Regions from separate parts of the Homo sapiens genome. Here region 1 is linked to region 2. The links are contacts of gene promoters, found by promoter capture Hi-C in human tissues and cell types (Jung and others, 2019). All regions are on one chromosome and are shown on one strand. Each heading gives the region's core, a stretch centred on a gene start or on the middle of the fragment in contact. The rest is flanking DNA. Distances are from core to core; before and after follow the strand shown. Region 1 overlaps KLC1 (kinesin light chain 1). Region 2 holds the start of SIVA1 (SIVA1 apoptosis inducing factor).

Region 1 (2,834 bases), core at 151-2,650, 1.1 Mb after region 2:
GGGACCACGCGCCCTGACCCTCATTGCCTCACCATATTATAAAACACTAAAACCGCTTAAGTTCTTCCCCACAGAGTTGGGGAACTAATTGTAAACAGAATACACGTCTACATATCAGCCCTGAGACAGCTGGCCCCGCTGCACACGCAGCCTGCTGGCCCCAGCAAGACACGGTCAGAGCTGGTAAGTGCTCTACAGCATTCAGAAATCTGACCACAGCGTACACACAGCTCACAAGTCAGTGCAAACAGAAGCTAATGACATCCTCCAAGAAAATTCCATACAGTTATGACAATGGAAAACCTGTTATACATTGTAACGATACATCATTAGCAATGTTTAATACATCTTACTATAAACACTGAATTTCTAAGTACATGATACTCCTAGCAGCTTAATCCAGAAAACAACGATGTGAATCCCTCCAATACTGTAAACACAAGACCAAGTGCTGCCCATGAGAGTGCCCCGTGCCACCCGCGGGCACCACCGGCCTCTGAGGACCCCTGAGCCACACACTGCTGCTGCTTCAGGGAAGCATCCATGTCACAGGACTTCCCCAGGGGCCTGATTTCTGCCACAGCTGCACCAACTACCCAGAGATATGCTGTCCGCCCACAGATCCAGACGCTCCCATGCCATGGTTGCTGGGGACGGGCGCTGCACACACGGCTGCTGTGGGGGGGGGCGGGGGGCGGGGGCGCAGTGATTATTTTGACAGCAACTCTGAAGAAACAGGTGCTGACTCTCGCGTGGGGTTCCTCTCACCAGAACGACCACACACAGGAGGAGGGATGCCTGGGCCCACCACTTCTCTCCTCTGAAGGGAAAAATTCAGACCGCCAGATGGGAAATGGCTGAAATCACCGCACTTCTATTGGGTGGAAGGGTTCAAACATCGGGGACTCAGGTACTCAGATTCCCTTGCCGCCTCCCTCTGAAACACGAACCTTCCTTTATGAGCTGGCTTCAGGGAGGCCCCCTGGCTTCTCTTACCCCAACACACAGTGCTCCCACAGCCACAGTGCTGCAGAGGCCACCTCGGCCCTAAAGTCCCATGGCTGGAAGCCACAGCAGGCTCCACAGAGGCCCCACACAACCTCGTCTGCACCCATCAGTCTGAAGAGGTTAAAATTCAACTCCATATTCAGCCCTATGTTTATTCCTTCTAAATGCCCTTTTTCCTTTCCAGATAACTGTCACTAAGGGAAACTGTCTGGGTTCCAAACTCTGCTCAGCATCCTCACAGGGAGAAGGCACCCCCACCACAAGGGAAGCTCCGGAGCCCTCCTCCCTGTCGCCTGTGCACAGACATAGCCCACTACGGGGGCAGCCACGGCACCTGTCAGGGGAAGCTGCTCTACACCCCCCTTTTTTTGGGGGGGGTTGGCTTCTCACAACCCATCAAATTATATATGTATATATATGTATGTATATATATATATATATATATACACACACACACATATATATATATATACACATGGTTTTTTTTGCTAGACACAGGGACTCGCTGTGTTGCCCAAGCTGTTCTTGAACTGGGCTCAAGTGATCCTCCCGCCTCAGCCTCCCAAAGTGCTAAGATTATAGGATTACTGGCATGAACCACCGCACCCAGCCATATATATATATATAATTTAACATTTTTTCTTTTAATCCCATCCACTATTACAGAACCTATGAAATTTTCTTCAACACCTCTATGTAGCATTTAGAATGTAAGCTCCTGATCCACCAGAATCTGCAAGAATGGAGTCAGGAGCCTCAGAAAAGGAGCCACGGCCACAGGCGAGCAGCTCGGGGACAACGCTGGCTCCACAGGGCAGCTCCTGGGCCAGGCACCCGCTGGCGACTACACGGAGCTTGTCTTGTGGAAACAAACGCGCTTTCACAAACACAGCAGTCCTGCGACATGAGGCGGGATGAAACTTTGAAAGGTATTTTAAAGTCTAGCCTTGTAACAAAACCTCAGGACACTCTGTCCCCAGCCTTCGTGCCCCACGGGGAGCTTCTAGAGGCTGAAGGTGACAAGTGTGAGCCTCTGCTGTGCCACCACCCACCCTGTTACATGACAGTGGCAAGCTGAGCTTTCACGGGATGGCTGGTGTTTCACAGACCGCCCCTCCATCCCGTAGCCTAGTTGGCTGGCATGGAGGTGGCGCTGCTGAGCGTCAGCCTTTGGAATCACTGATCACCTCGGCGTCTGTTTTGTATGCTCTTTACCTATGGACTAGTTTGTGGACGGCTAAGAAATACAGCCTCAGCATTGATTTGAAAAGGTTCCTGTCAGAGTCCACCGTGCTCCCTCATTCCATAAAGCTTAAGCTTTTAAAAAGTGAAACGCCATGTTAGCCAGGATGGTCTCGATCTCCTGACCTTGTGATCCGCCTGGCGGGTGCCTGTAGTCCCAGCTACTCGGGAGGCTGAGGCAGGAGAATGGCGTGAACCCAGGAGGTGGAGCTTGCAGTGGGCCGAGATTGGGCCACTGCGCTCCAGCCTGGGCAACAGAGTTAGACTCCGTCTCAAAAAAAAAAAAAAAAAAAGTGAAACACACGTCTCTATGGGCTTCGTGTGCAGGGGCGTCCGGGAGAACACAGCTCAAAAGGGGGCATGGGGCCCCAGGGCCACAGGCATGGGGACCTTGGAAAGAGAGACCCGGAAGATGCTCCAGCTGGGAAGGAATTCACTTCCCACTGACCAGTGTCCGCTAAGCTTCAGGCTTTACTGCCATAGATCACTAAATGCCTATCGTTCTGAAAGGGGTACTTTATGTTTCCAGATTCTTAATTTACAGCCTTATTACAATATTACAATTTAAAAGAGAGTCTGGTGTC
Region 2 (3,008 bases), core at 108-2,607:
CCATTTCCATCTTCCTCTTCTTGCCTGCACAGTGTTTGAATTTTTCAACTGTCCTGAGAGGGCACACGATTGCGGTCCTGCCACAGTTCCCACGGCATCATTCCCCTTACCTCCCCATGGCCCAGAATAGCACTCGCTTTCACAGCCCTAGCACACTGGAGACACCGCACAGAGGAACCTCGGGAGGCAGAGTCTTTCCCTCATTCCCAAGGCACAAGCGGCACCAGGTAAATCACACACCCCGGGTCATCCTCTAACTGCTCTACAGGTGCAGACTTTGTGTCCCAATCACTAGGCAAGGTAAGCTCCACTTTTTACCTGCCCCAGGGTATTAATCACCCCAGTCAGAGTGATGATCAATAAGATCAACACGCCTGAAATCCACAGGAGAAAGCCAGAGAAGGCCTGGGAGCTCACTGCCCTCACATCCCACCCAGAACTGGACACTGCAGCCACACGGAGTCCTATTTCGCTCTCCTGCTGCCTGGCTTCTGCCTCGCCCTCTTCCTTCCCTTCCTCTGCCTGGCTAACTCCTACTCGCCCCCACAGGATTCCGCTCAGACTGTTCTTCCAAGAAGCCTTCCGTGCCATCCCTGCAGGTGCGCCTGCACAAACCTGTGCCTGCCCCGACCACCTGTGGCGACTCCTCCTGCTGGTCTCCCCAACTAGGCTGGGGAGCTCCCGGGAGACGGGGCACATCTGTCTTGCCTGCCTTTGGTCTCCCGAGAAAGCCGCCGTGCCTGGCAGGGCCGCGCGCTCCATGAATACCTCTTGGGACAGGAGGGGCACTCTTCGGGTTGACTCCATGCAGGACGCCCCGCTCCCCAACCTCTCCCAGGACATCCTGCACGGGACAGTCCTGAGAAAGCACCAGGCGGGTGCCGCTCACTGCAGGGCGGCGACTAACCGGGATCGTGGAAGAGGGCGCGGGGGCTAGGGGCAGGGACCCTTTTCTTTCAGGCTGTTGGACAGGGTGGGCGAACGCTGGGGTCCTCACATCCCCCTCACTGACCCCAGCCCTGGGCGTGGCCAGCTTGTGTCCCCGCGGCCTCCCAGCTTCCGGGAACGCGGGGCCAGAAAGCAGGGCCCTCCAGCCCCCCGCTCAGGCCTCAGAGGGGACGCTGAGGCCCGGCCCGTTCCAGGCCCCGACGCAGCGGACCCTCGGCAGCCCGCCCGACACTCACCGAAGACCTCCTGCGAGTAGCGCTCGGCGCACACGCCGCGGCTCAACTCCCTCTGGCTCACGCGGACCTTGAGCTGTAGCGGGGCCACGTCCGCGAAGGGGCAGCTCCGCTTGGGCATGGCCGCGGGGCCGGGAGCTACGCAGCTCCCCGGCCGCCAGCCCCTTACCAACGACGCCGTGACGTCACAGCTGCGCGCCCATCCGCGGGCGAGAGCGGGTTTGAGGAGAGGGAGCGACGCGGCGCGTCATAGGCTGCGGGCGAAGTGGGAGGCGGGACTCCTGCGCGGAGCGGCGCGGGATAGGCCGAGGGAGAGATCGGGGGTGGGACTCGTGCGTCGGTGTACTGGACTCGACGCCGCGGGAAAGGCCAGGGGCCAGGTTGAGGATCAGGGTGGGCGGGTCCGTGGGAGAGATTTGTGCGCGCGCCGCTCAGGATAGGCGGGAGGAGAGACTAGGGGCGGGGTTCCTATGCGGCGCGAAGCGACGAAGGGTGGGAGCCAGGTCGCGGCATTCGGCTGCGCGGGAAGAGCCAGGGGGCGGGGGCGAGGCCGAGGGTCAGGACGGTGCAACGAGGGCGGAGCTTGTGCATCGGGGGCGGGCCTCGTTTGAGGATCGGCGTGGGATAGGCCAGGGCGACGTCGGGGCGGGTCTAGTTTGAGGAGCGGCGCGGGATAGGCCAGGGCAAAGTCTGGGGCGGCTGGGTCGGTGGCGGGATTCCTGTCAGCTTTTGTTTGGTTCCTAAACGGTAGACACTGGTTATAGTTCCTCATTTACTTCTCCGAAGTTAAGAGGCAGCCCGCTTCTTCCTAGCTCTTTTTTCCCCTTTAGAGACAGGGTCTCGCTCTGTCACCCAGACTGAGTGCAGTGGCAGTCTCGGCTCACTGTAGCTTGCGCCTCCCGGGCTCAGGCGATCCTCCCTTCTCGGCCTCCCCGGTAGCTGGGACCGCAGGCGCGCGCCTCCGCGCCCCGCTTTTTGGTTTTGGGTAGGAACGGGGGTTTTTCTGTGTTGCCTCAGCTGGCTTAGCTCCTCACTGTGGCGGTCTCCGCCTTCCAGAAGTAAAGGCGTGTGGGGGCTGCGCTCTGAGGGCCGCGTGCGGCTGCCGAGCGCCCCCGGGCGGGGGTATGCGCCGCTGTGTGGAAAATGTTCTTGCACAGCGGGTTCGTCTGACTTGGTGTCCCCATGCCGCGAGGTGCACCCGCGTCGTCCCTTCTCCGGGGTTCTGCTCACCAGAGGCGGCTCTCCCCTGCCCCGGCGGGTACAGAACCGACCCGTCCTGTGGCGTGGGCTTCGCCCTGTGAGAGATGACAGCGTGCTGGCAGCCCTCGCTCGCTCTCGGCGCCCACTCTGGCCGCGCTCGAGGGGCCCTTCAGCCCGCCGCTGCACTGTGGGAGCCCCTCTCTGGGCTGGCCGCGGCCGGAGCCGGCTCCCTCAGCTTGCAGGGAGGTGTGGAGGGAGAGGTGCGGGCGGGAACCCGGGCTGCACGTGGCGCTTGCGGGTCAGCGTGAGTTCCGGGTGGGCGTGGGCTCGGCGGGCCCCGCAATCGGAGCCACCGGCCCCAGGCAGTGAGGAGCTTAGCACCCGGGCCAGCAGCTGCGGAGGATGCGCCGGGTCCCCCACCAGTGCCGGCCCGCCGGCGCTGCGCTCGAATTCTCACCGGGCCTCAGCTGCCTCCCCGCGAGGCAGGGCTCAGGACCTGCAGCCCGCCATGCCTGAGTCTCCCCCCTGCCGTGGGCTCTTGCGCGGCCCCCTGCTCCGCGGCACCCGGTCCCATCGACCGCCCAAGGGCTGAGGAGTGCGGGCGCACGGCGCGGGACTGGCGGGCAG

Evidence for each region. Contacts are between HindIII fragments. The study calls those that stand out against the background at their distance.
Region 1: a fragment that was not itself captured here is called in contact with the fragment with the promoter of SIVA1 in region 2 in 1 of the 25 tissues and cell types used here (dorsolateral prefrontal cortex).

What each region holds. Positions count from the first base shown.
Region 1 is chr14:103,693,960-103,696,793 of GRCh38, reverse strand. The region is part of intron 15 of KLC1 (kinesin light chain 1); the gene reads right to left. Among named protein-coding and RNA genes, the nearest start is that of XRCC3, 20 kb to the left of the region's middle. The HindIII fragment of the contact is 3,456 bases long and covers 1-2,834 here.
Region 2 is chr14:104,751,496-104,754,503 of GRCh38, reverse strand. It overlaps SIVA1 (SIVA1 apoptosis inducing factor), which reads right to left and starts at 1,357. Exons shown (of 4, transcript NM_006427.4): 1 at 1,185-1,357. The coding sequence starts at 1,302. The region is part of intron 2 of LOC107987209 (a long non-coding RNA gene); the gene reads left to right. RefSeq lists enhancers at 1,262-1,331, 1,342-1,391, 1,037-1,538, 2,242-2,331 and a silencer at 1,492-1,861. The HindIII fragment of the contact is 10,762 bases long and covers 1-3,008 here.